Regions from separate parts of the Homo sapiens genome. Here region 1 is linked to region 2. Evidence: promoter capture Hi-C in human tissues and cell types (Jung and others, 2019). All regions are on one chromosome and are shown on one strand. Each heading gives the region's core, a stretch centred on a gene start or on the middle of the fragment in contact. The rest is flanking DNA. Distances are from core to core; before and after follow the strand shown.

Evidence for each region. Contacts are between HindIII fragments. The study calls those that stand out against the background at their distance.
Region 1: a fragment that was not itself captured here is called in contact with the fragment with the promoter of IPO5 in region 2 in 2 of the 25 tissues and cell types used here (H1 embryonic stem cells and mesendoderm cells).

What each region holds. Positions count from the first base shown.
Region 1 is chr13:97,872,751-97,877,759 of GRCh38, reverse strand. No RefSeq gene overlaps it. Among named protein-coding and RNA genes, the nearest start is that of IPO5, 78 kb to the left of the region's middle. The HindIII fragment of the contact is 5,327 bases long and covers 1-5,009 here.
Region 2 is chr13:97,951,184-97,956,230 of GRCh38, reverse strand. IPO5 (importin 5) reads right to left here and starts at 2,556. Exons shown (of 29, transcript NM_002271.6): 1 at 2,515-2,556; 2 at 2,033-2,112. The HindIII fragment of the contact is 20,218 bases long and covers 1-5,047 here.

The DNA of each region.
Region 1 (5,009 bases), core at 1,401-3,900, 79 kb after region 2:
TGCCAGGGAAGGAAAAGGGTGGCCAAGTCTGGGTCTTTGCTGTAAAATATACATACATTCTTTCACTTGATTTAAAAATCATGAAAATCTCTTTTTTTTTTTTTTTTTTTTTGAAACAGAGTCTCCCTCTGTTGCCCAGGCTGAAGTGCAGTGGCGTGATCTCAGCTCACTGCAATCTCTGCTTCTCGGGTTCAAGCGAGTCTCATGCCTCAGCCTCTGGAGTAGGTGGGACCATAGGTGCGTGCCACCATGCCCAGTGAATTTTTGTATTTTTAGTAGAGACAGGGTTTCACCATGTTGGCCAGGATGGTCTCAATCTCTTGACCTCGTGATCCACCAACCTCGGCCTCCCAACGTGCTGGGATTACAGGCATAAGCCACTGTGCCTGGCCAAAACTCTTAATAATACAGTTTATACTGAGTCCTTCTCATTGACTCATTAATCACTCTTCCTTGCTATCTGCGACACCTAAAACCTTATTTAATTCTGATGAATAAATATAAATAGCACTCTATACTATAATTACATCTATATTTTAAATATTTTAAATCTTTTCTTTTGGCTAAGACCCTTTAGTGAATGTCTTATTTTCACTTAAAAGTATGCAATTTCTTTCCCAGCTTCTCCAAATTAGCAAATGTTAAATAGTGCGTTGTTAATAGGAGGTTTGACCTATCTATTCAGCTGTGCTGTAATTTTGTGAATAGGGCTAAGATTTAGGAATAAATTTTTAATTGTTTGGTATATAGTAATAGTTAAGTAATAATTTCCTCCAAAGGCAGATTTCCTTTTCTAATGAAATCTAGAGTGACTTTTCTAACCTAGCTTACTTTGAAAAAATACACACTTATTTTAGAAGAGTTTTACATTTACAGAAAAATTACTCTCTTACATTTACAGAAAAAAGTCACTCAGCTAATGAGTGACTTTTCTAACCTAGCTTACTTTGAAAAAATACACATTTATTTTAGAAGAGTTTTACATTTACAGAAAAATTACAGATATAGTACAGAGTTCCTATATATCCTACCCCAAGCTTCCTCCATGACTAACATCTTACATTTCGTGTGGCACATCTGTCGTAATTAGCGAAGCAATATCGATATATGGTTATTAACTAAAATTCATACTCTATTCATATTTCCTTCATTTTTACCTAATGTTCTTTTTCTGTTCTATGGTCTCACCCAGAATCCCGTATTACTTTTAGTCATCATATCCTCTTAGGCTCTTCTTGGCTGTGACAGTTTCTCAGATTTTCCTTTTGAAATGGCCTCACTGTCTGGAATAGCACCCGAGGTTCATTGTCTCATGTCCATGGAGAACGAGGGCAGGCACACACAAAGGGTGAGGTTGATAGCAGAGGTTTCATAAGCGAAAGAAAGAGAAGAGCTCTCTTCTGCAGAGTGGGGTGCTGGAAAACGGGTTGCTTGATCTGTGGTGAAATGCCGGGGGTTTTATAGATGAGCTGGTAAGGAGGAAGACTGGTTAGACCAGGTGTGCCATTTGCATAGGGCGTGAATATCTGGTAGCCCCCACTCTAATCTTTTATTATGGAGGTAGGTTCTCTGCCTGAGTTGCGCCATTTTTTTATTACCGTACACATGGTAACAAACAAATGGAAGACGGAGCCTCCATGTTGGACACTCCTGGCTCCCAGGTAGCTGTTTTCTATTGGCACAGCTGCTGGCATTCTCCTGTGAATGCTGGCATCCAGCTTGCTTATCTATGTTTGCAGCTCGATTTTTCAGGCTGCTCTTTCTTAGGAAAAAAATAATTTCTTGGGCTGCTTTTTGTTAGAAGGGAAGCTCTGCCGAGGACTCTTTTGCCCTACTATCTGCCTAAATAATTTCTTTCTACCCCCTGTATCACTTGTTTTTGTTGACCTTGACGATTTTGAGAAGTACTCCTCAGGTATTTTGTAGAACTGGGATTCTGGGCAGAGTATGTACATGTATTAATGGAATTCTGCACAGGAGACTTGTCTCTTCTCCCCATTTATTTATTTATTCAGTCACTTATTTATGCCATTATAGACTTGTGGATACTTATTTTGTGTTTTGTGTTATAATCTAATACTACTTAATATTGTTGCTCAAATCGTTCTACCTTCAGGCACAGAGAACTCTTTCACTTTGTTCCTGTACCCCTTTGATATACCCACATCCTTGTGGAGTTTTAACATTTTTCTTTACTTTTTTGAGCACTTTCTTGATTTCAGGCACTATAAGATGCTCCAGCTGAGACAGCCAAATACAAAGGGGACCCCGGAGAATCTCCAACTGGCCTGCGCACTGGGAGAGTGGGGTGGAGCCGGGGAAGTTTGCCCCGTTTGCAGCGGGGAGGAGCCTGGCCCCTCCTGTTCCTGTGTGGTAACCTGGGATTCAATCCGTGAGGTGGAGAGCCCGCCTGTTAGCAGGACCTCATCTCACTTTGCTGTGTTGTTCTAACTTTTTCCTTTTCACCCAATAACTTCCATTCTCCCTCACCCTTCAAAGTGACTGCGAGCCTATTCTTTCCTGATCTTGTGACAAGAACCCGGTTTTTCCTCCAACACAGTCCTATCTTGTATTGTTTCCTGCTCTAGTCCGAGATTCAGCCATTTCTCCAAGGATCCTTGGTTCCTTTTATTGGAGAATGGCATTAGAGACAAAGATCTGGGCATTAGGTGTGCTTGTGGCTGCAGGGGTGTCATTACTTCTTGGCCCTCTTAGCTGACGGAGCAAAGAGATACGTGAAAGGAAAATAAATCTCGGGACTCCCAAATCACTAAGCCAAAGGGAAAAGTCAAGCTGGGAACTGCGTCAGGCAAACCTGCCTCCTGTTTTATTCTGTTGAATTTCACCCTGGCAACGTAAGTTGATAGCTCATCTTCACAAGTATGGGAAAAGGACAGAACTCAAAGTCATCCCTCTGCTCACCAAATGCCTATCTGATTGCTTCTTCGGCCCTATTGTTTATTTATTTTACCGTATGTAAAAATGCAGATTCACAGAGCCAGACCTCTACCTTGCCCCCGACCTGTAAATTTTGTATTTGGTGAAAGGCTGATCAAAAGCTCAAAAGAATGCAACCCTTTGTCTCCTATCTACCCACACCTTTAAAAAATTTCTTCCTCTTTCCCCAGTATCTGCCCTTTTCCCTTTAAATATTACAACCTTCAAAATTATCTTTGGAGAAAGTCACAGACCCAGTCTCCCAGATGCGTGTCCTTATCCTTGGCAAAATAAACTTCTAAACTGATTGAGACATGTCTCAGAGACTTTTTGGTTTACAGATATATAAGCCATGTGTTTATAGACATTCAAACTGCCATTGAAAAATTCTGAGAAAATTATGACAAGTGTAAGAGATTTGACCTAACCAACTCCATCTTGCCTCTAACCCCTGAGCTGCCCTTGTTCATTCCTGGGCATAGGCTGAACTAACTTTGGGAGGAACTTAGTTTATAGTTTAACTTTGAAACAAAGACAATAACAGCCCTTCCCGGAACAAACCCCCTTCCTACCTGAGGACTAGACTGGCTTTGTAGGACTAACAAATTAGCCACAAGATTAGAAATGACGATTTAGGAGTCATGCAGCTGGAGGCTAAAAATTCGGACCCTCTCCAAATTGCTCCTGAGGATAACATCACTATTGTAAAACCTAAGACCAGTGCTTGAGATATTTTGCAGACTGCAGACCCTGTACTTGATGGATAGGCTGATGCCACCCAGATGGATAAACTGGCTCATCTGGTCTTGTGGCCCCAACTCAGGAACTGACTCAGTGCGAGAGGACAGCTTCGGCCCAACCAATCAGCAATCCCAACTCACTGCCCCCTACCCACCAAATTGGTCTTAAAAACCCCAATCCCTGAGTTTTTTGGGAGACTGATTTGAGTTACAATAAAACTCCAGTCTCCTGTACAGCCAGCACTGAATGAATTAAACTCTATATTTCAATTCTCCTGTCTTGATAAATTGGCTCTGTCTAGGCAGTGGGCAAAGAGAACCCATCAGGCGGTTATAAATTTAGAAATATTTCTATATATAATCATCTGTACCTATATTAAGCTAATTATGAGTTCATACTGATGTCTTTAGCTCTAACCCATTACCACATGAATCATTCCAGCCACCTCCCCTTGCTTATCTGTAAACTGCAGCTCCAATGGTGAGAAATCTGGCATCTGCCATCTGCCATCCATTTCTTTCTCTTTTCTTAGAGAGAGGGTCCCTCTCTGTTGTCCAGGCTGAAGTGCAGTGGTGTGATTATAGTTCACTGTAACCTCAAACTCCTGGGCTCAAGTGATCCTCCTCCCTCAGCCTCCCAAGTAGCTGGGCCTACAGGTGTGTGCCACCATGTCTGGCTAGGTTTAAAATGTTTTGTAGAGACGAAATCTCATTATGTTGCCCAGGCTAGTCTTGAACTCCTGGCCTCAAGCAATTCTCCCACGTCAGCCTCCCAAAGCTCTGGGATTATAGATGTGAGCCACTGTGTCTGGCCTGTCATCCATTTTCTTAATTGTTCAATTCCAGAATACAGGTATAGTGGTTTTGGAATTGTTAACCTGTACCCCTGTGTAAATCTACATCATCACCCAAAGTACAGTCTTATATACAGTTCCATTTGCCTTTAGTCTTATAGACTGGTCATTTCTAAAGTTACTTAGGTCAGCACCTGATGTGGCTTGGATCTATGTCCCCACGTCACTCTCATGTTAAATTGTAATCCCCAATGTTGGAGGTGAGGCTTGGTGGGAGGTGATTGAAACATGAGGGCAGTTTCTCATGCGTGGTTTAATACCATCCTCCTTGGTGCTGTTTTCATGATAATGAGTGAGTTCTTGTGAGATCTGGTTGCTTAAAAGTATATGGCACCTTCCCCCCAACTTTGTCCTGTGCCAGCCATGTGAAGTGTCTTGCTCCTCCTTTGCCTTCCGCCATGATTGCAAGTTCCCTGAGGCCTCCCCAGAAGCAGAAGCTGCTACGCTTCCTGTACAGCCTGCAGAACCATGAACCACT
Region 2 (5,047 bases), core at 1,307-3,806:
AAACATGTATTAATTCCTTACTGGCCTTTTGAAACCTTTTGAAACACTGAATTATTATTATTTTTATTTTTTACTTTTTTTGTTCGTTTTTTTTTTTTTGACACGGAGTCTCGCACTGTCGCCCAGGCTGGAGTGCAGTGGCGCGATCTTGGCTCACTGCAAGCTCCACCTCCCGGGTTCACGCCATTGTCTCGCCTCAGCCTCCAGAGTAGCTGGGACCACAGGTGCCCGCCACCACGCCCGGCTAATTTTTTGTATTTTTAGTAGAGACGGGGTTTCACCGTGTTAAGCCAGGAAGGTCTTGGTCTCCTGACCTTGTGATCCGCCTGCCTTGGCCTCCCAAAGTGCTGGGATTACAGGCATGAGCCACTGCGCCTGGCCAAAATGCTGAATTATTTTTCACCTTTCCAGAGTGGGGCGTATAGGATAGAAGTTGGCCCTTGGGATGAGGGGATCCTGACTGTAGTTGCAGCTTCCCCCTTAACTAGCTGTGATCCTGAACTGGGCTGTCAATGCTTCCTGAGGCCTCCATTTCCTCATCTGTAAATTGGGGCGAGTTGGGCAGCACCCTAGGGGATCCTCCCAGCTCCGGCGTCTGAGGACCATCAAGTCGGTTATGTCACTGGGTTGTGGTAGAGTGGTGGATACACAGGCCACTTAGGCTTGCTTGCCCTGAGGTGAAATTGTTCTGGAACTCTGGGATTTCAACTCTTATATTTCTGCCTGTGTTTTGGAAGTGTTTTCCCCGCTCATTTTCTCCATCAGACAGTGTCATTTATTGTAGCTGCCAACATAAAATGACAACTGTCTCCACTTGTCAGCTGCTCTCATCATCTGGTTTGCTGTGTGCTTTGGAAGGCAGATGACCAAGCATGTATGAACTAGGCACAAGAGTATATGAACTCAGCACAGAGAAGACAGCTGAGGATATTTCCTGTAGAGTAGCATGCATGAACTTTATAAGGTATTTGGCCACTTAGGTATTTTTCTTTTTTTTTTTTCGTGATAGGGTCCCACTCTGTCACCCAGGCTGGAGTGCAGTGGCACAGTCATGGCTCACTGCAGTCTTGACCTCCCCAGCTCAAGGAATCCTCTCACCTCAGCCTCCTGAGTCCCTGGAATTACAGATGCATTCTGCCATAACTGGCTACTTTTTTCTATATTTTGTAGAGACAGGGTCTCACTATGTTGCCTAGGCTGACCTTAAACTCCTAGGCCCAAGTGATCCTCCCACCTCAGCCTCCCAAAGTGCTGGGATTATAGGTGTGAGCCACTGTGCCCGGCCGGTATTTTTCATTTGGAGGTTTATAATTGCATTCCAGAGTTTTAACTCTACTGGAAAGCTAACACAATGTTCCAACACAAATCTGTCTCGCATACTAGTTAGTGTCTTTGAGGTTCCATCACAGACAAATGACGGAAGAAAGCAAAACTGTTTAGGAAGGTCTAAATTAAACATTCTATAATAAAGGCATTAGCATTTGACAAGTCCCTGGTATCTAATACTTTATAAGATGACAATGAGCCTTTTTTACCCCTAGTTAGGGGATTAAGTTCTAGGAGAAGAAGTTAACCAGGTGGTTCCTTAAGTAAGTAATCTTTTGACTACTTAGGGATTGATTTTGTTTTCCCATAATGAAAATGAATTCTGTTTTCCTTCATTTACTTGACTTTAGTGATCTCTGAAAACTAAGATAAAATATACTCGGCCTCTGAGGGAATACAACCATAATGTACAGAAGACAAAATAGATACTCTAAAGATTTTAAATGGAACATCTTGGGATTTGAGAAATTAAAGGCAGTGAAAATCATACTGCTTCTAAGCACTTTTTATTCTCCCTATAGGAAAGCAGGGTAGATAATCCTGATGGGTTGGATTTCAATTAATTGGTGAATAGAAGGTAAAATGATCAAGAAACAGATATCATAATTATAGGAGAAAATAGCAGGAGCTTTTTGTTTTAAAGGAAATAAAGAATAGAATTCACAGTGAAGAGAGACAGAACAAAATCTGATAATTCTAGACTCACTTGAGTGCCGCAAGTATCCTGATCAGGGAAAACAGTTGTGCCTACACATGGGTCCTGGAAAGGCTTCTCCCCGGAACCACCTAAGTGAAATAAAAACTGATTTCTGACTGTTTCAGGATGGCAACACAGACCTTTAGGATAATAACCCACATTCTTTTGGGCAACTCTAATCAAGTGATGCCTCCTTAAGGATACAGAGTTAGTCCCCAGCTCACGTAAGGCACAATACCAAAGAACAATGAGCCATCATGAAATCGTCATTGTTTCATACTTGGTTTTTGTGTAGAATGTTCTCCAAATCATTGTCTCTGACGTTTCCTTCCTCTTGGGTATGACTGTGGTGACGTCAGGAGACGAGCTAAAGGGACCTCCTGGATCTCACAGGGAAACTCTTTCCCTCCAGTATCACGCTAAATTGTTCCTCAGTGCAGATGAAATTCTTAAATGGTTTCATCTGAATGTGAGGTTTTGGGATGACTTACTGTGGTCAGAGCTGTTCCCGGCTGCTCCAGTTGTGGGAGGTCATCAATCCCACAGTTCTGACCTCCTGGCTCAGAGACGTCACCGTGGAGACACCTGGCTGCTATTGTGACACGCAGGAGGTCAGCTGGCTCCTGCTAGTGGGCATTTACACTGCCCACCCTGCCAGCTTCACAGGCCCACACTGCACAGGCATTTAGACGTTACAGGGTAGCCCAAGCTCCCAAAGCTGTGGAAAGGAAAGGGAGCTATCTATTGGCCTTTGAGAACTCAAAACCCATGTTGCTGGGGGCCACTCAGATTGGGTACAAATGTGTCATCAAATTCAGTTTTGAAACTGTCTGAGTAGCTTCTTTACCCACAGATTTTGATTCTATTCACTACTCAATACTGAAAAGAGAAATTGATCTCTCAAATAGACAAAGATAAATTTGTATGGAAACAACAGGAAATTCCATATTACATACGTTTATGTCAACTGGGTTTGTGATTAAATTACTTTTTCTTTTATTTTAGTTGACATGTAATAATTATAAATATTGGCTGGGCGGGGTGGCTCATGCCTGTAATTCCAGCACTTTGGGAGGCCGAGGTGGGAGGATCATTTGAGCTCAGGAGTTCAAGACCAGTCTTGGCAACATGGCAAAACCCCATCTCTATGAAAAATGCAAATATTAGATGCGTGTGGCAGTGCACACCTGTAGTCCCAGCTGCTCAGGAAGCTGAAGTGGGAGGATCATCTGAGCCGGGGGAGGTTGAAGCTGCAGTGAGCTGTGATTGCACCACTGCACTCCAGCCTGGGCAACAGAGTGAGACCTTGTCTCAAAAAATAAACAATAAAAAATTGCAGATATTTATGGGATGTAATTAAATTTTTATATGACAGATTAACATCAATTTTGCCCTGTATTCTCATGGATCTCAATGCCCTAGCTTTGTACATTTAGCTTTTCTTTTTTTTTTGAGACAGATTCTCACTCTGTTGCCCAGGCTGGAGTGCAGTGGCGTGATCTCGGCTCACTGCAACCTCCACCTCCCGGGTTCAAGAAATTCTCCTGCCTCAGCCTCCCAAGTAGCTGGGATTACAGGTGCCCACCACCATGCCCGAATAATTTTTGTATTTTAGTACAGATGGGGTTTCACCACGTTGGCCAGGCTGGTCTTGAACTCCTGACCTCAAGTGATCCATCTGCCTCGGCCTCTCAAAGTGCTGGGATTACAGGCATGATCCCCTGCGCTGGCCTAGCATTTTGTTGTTTTTATTAATTCAGATCATTAATTAAAGCCAAACTCCATTTTTGTAATTATTTATTTCTTTTTTTTTTGATACAGAGTCTCTCTCTGTTGCCCAGGCTGGTGTGATCTCAGCTCACTGCAACCTCTGCCTCTCTGGTTCAAGCGATTCTTCTGCCTCAGCCTCCCAAGTAGCTGGGATTACAGGCACGCGCCACCATGCTCGGCTAATTTTTATATTTTTAGTAGAGACGGGGTTTCACCATGTTAGCCAGGATGGTCTCGATCTCCTGACTTCGTAATCTGCCCACCTTGGCCTCCCAAAGTGCTGGGATTACAGGCATGAGCCAACGCACCCGGCCTATTTTTGATTTTTAAATTGTTTCATAGGACATGGGCAGACTCCTTTGTATAGGTCACATTTTTTTCTTGGTAACGTGTGATGTCTAAGCACTTTCTAGTGTCACCCCGCATATCCTGAAAGTTCTTCAGCACTATTCCTTGCTTCTTCGTCCTCATCCTATGTCACTGGTTCTTTTTTTGTTTTTGAGACAGGGGTCTCATTATGTTACCCAGGCTGGTCTCGAACTATGGGCTCAAGAGATCCTCCTGCCTCAGCCTCCCAAGTGGTTGGGACTGCAGGAGCTCGCTACTGCACCTGACTTCTAACATTTTGGCTTGTGGGCAGGTGTCTTCATGGCATTTTGCTCAAGCATCTTACCAAGGGTCTGATACCAGAATTTACATAGATTCAGAATCAGCGATTGAATGGTTACAAGGTTACTGCAAAATGTATGAAGAACATTTTATTTAGTTACGTATTTGTTTATTTTTTAGTTCTTTTTTTAGAGACAGTCTTGCACTGTTACCCACCCTGGAGTCCAGTGATGCAATCATGGCTCACTGCATGCCCCACCATACTTGGTTAATGTTCTAAAAAAATGTTTGTAGACGTTGGGGGAGGGTCTCACTGTGTTGCCTAGGCTGATCTTGAACTCCTGGCCTCAAGTGAGCTGGGAGCACCTTGGCCTCCCAAAGTGCTGGGATTACAGGGGTGAGCCATTGTGCCCTTCCTGAAGAACATTTTAAAAGAACAAATCCGAGAAGTTTCTCCAGTGCCTATGACATTGACCAGTTGCTTGGTGTATTAGTCTGTTTTCATGCTGCTGATAAAGACCGTGGCTGGGCACAGTGGCTCATGCCTCTAATCCTAGCACTTTGGGAGGCTGAGGTCAGGAGTTCGAGACCACCCTGGCCAACATGGCAAAACCCTGTCTCTACTAAAAATAGAAAAATTAGCTG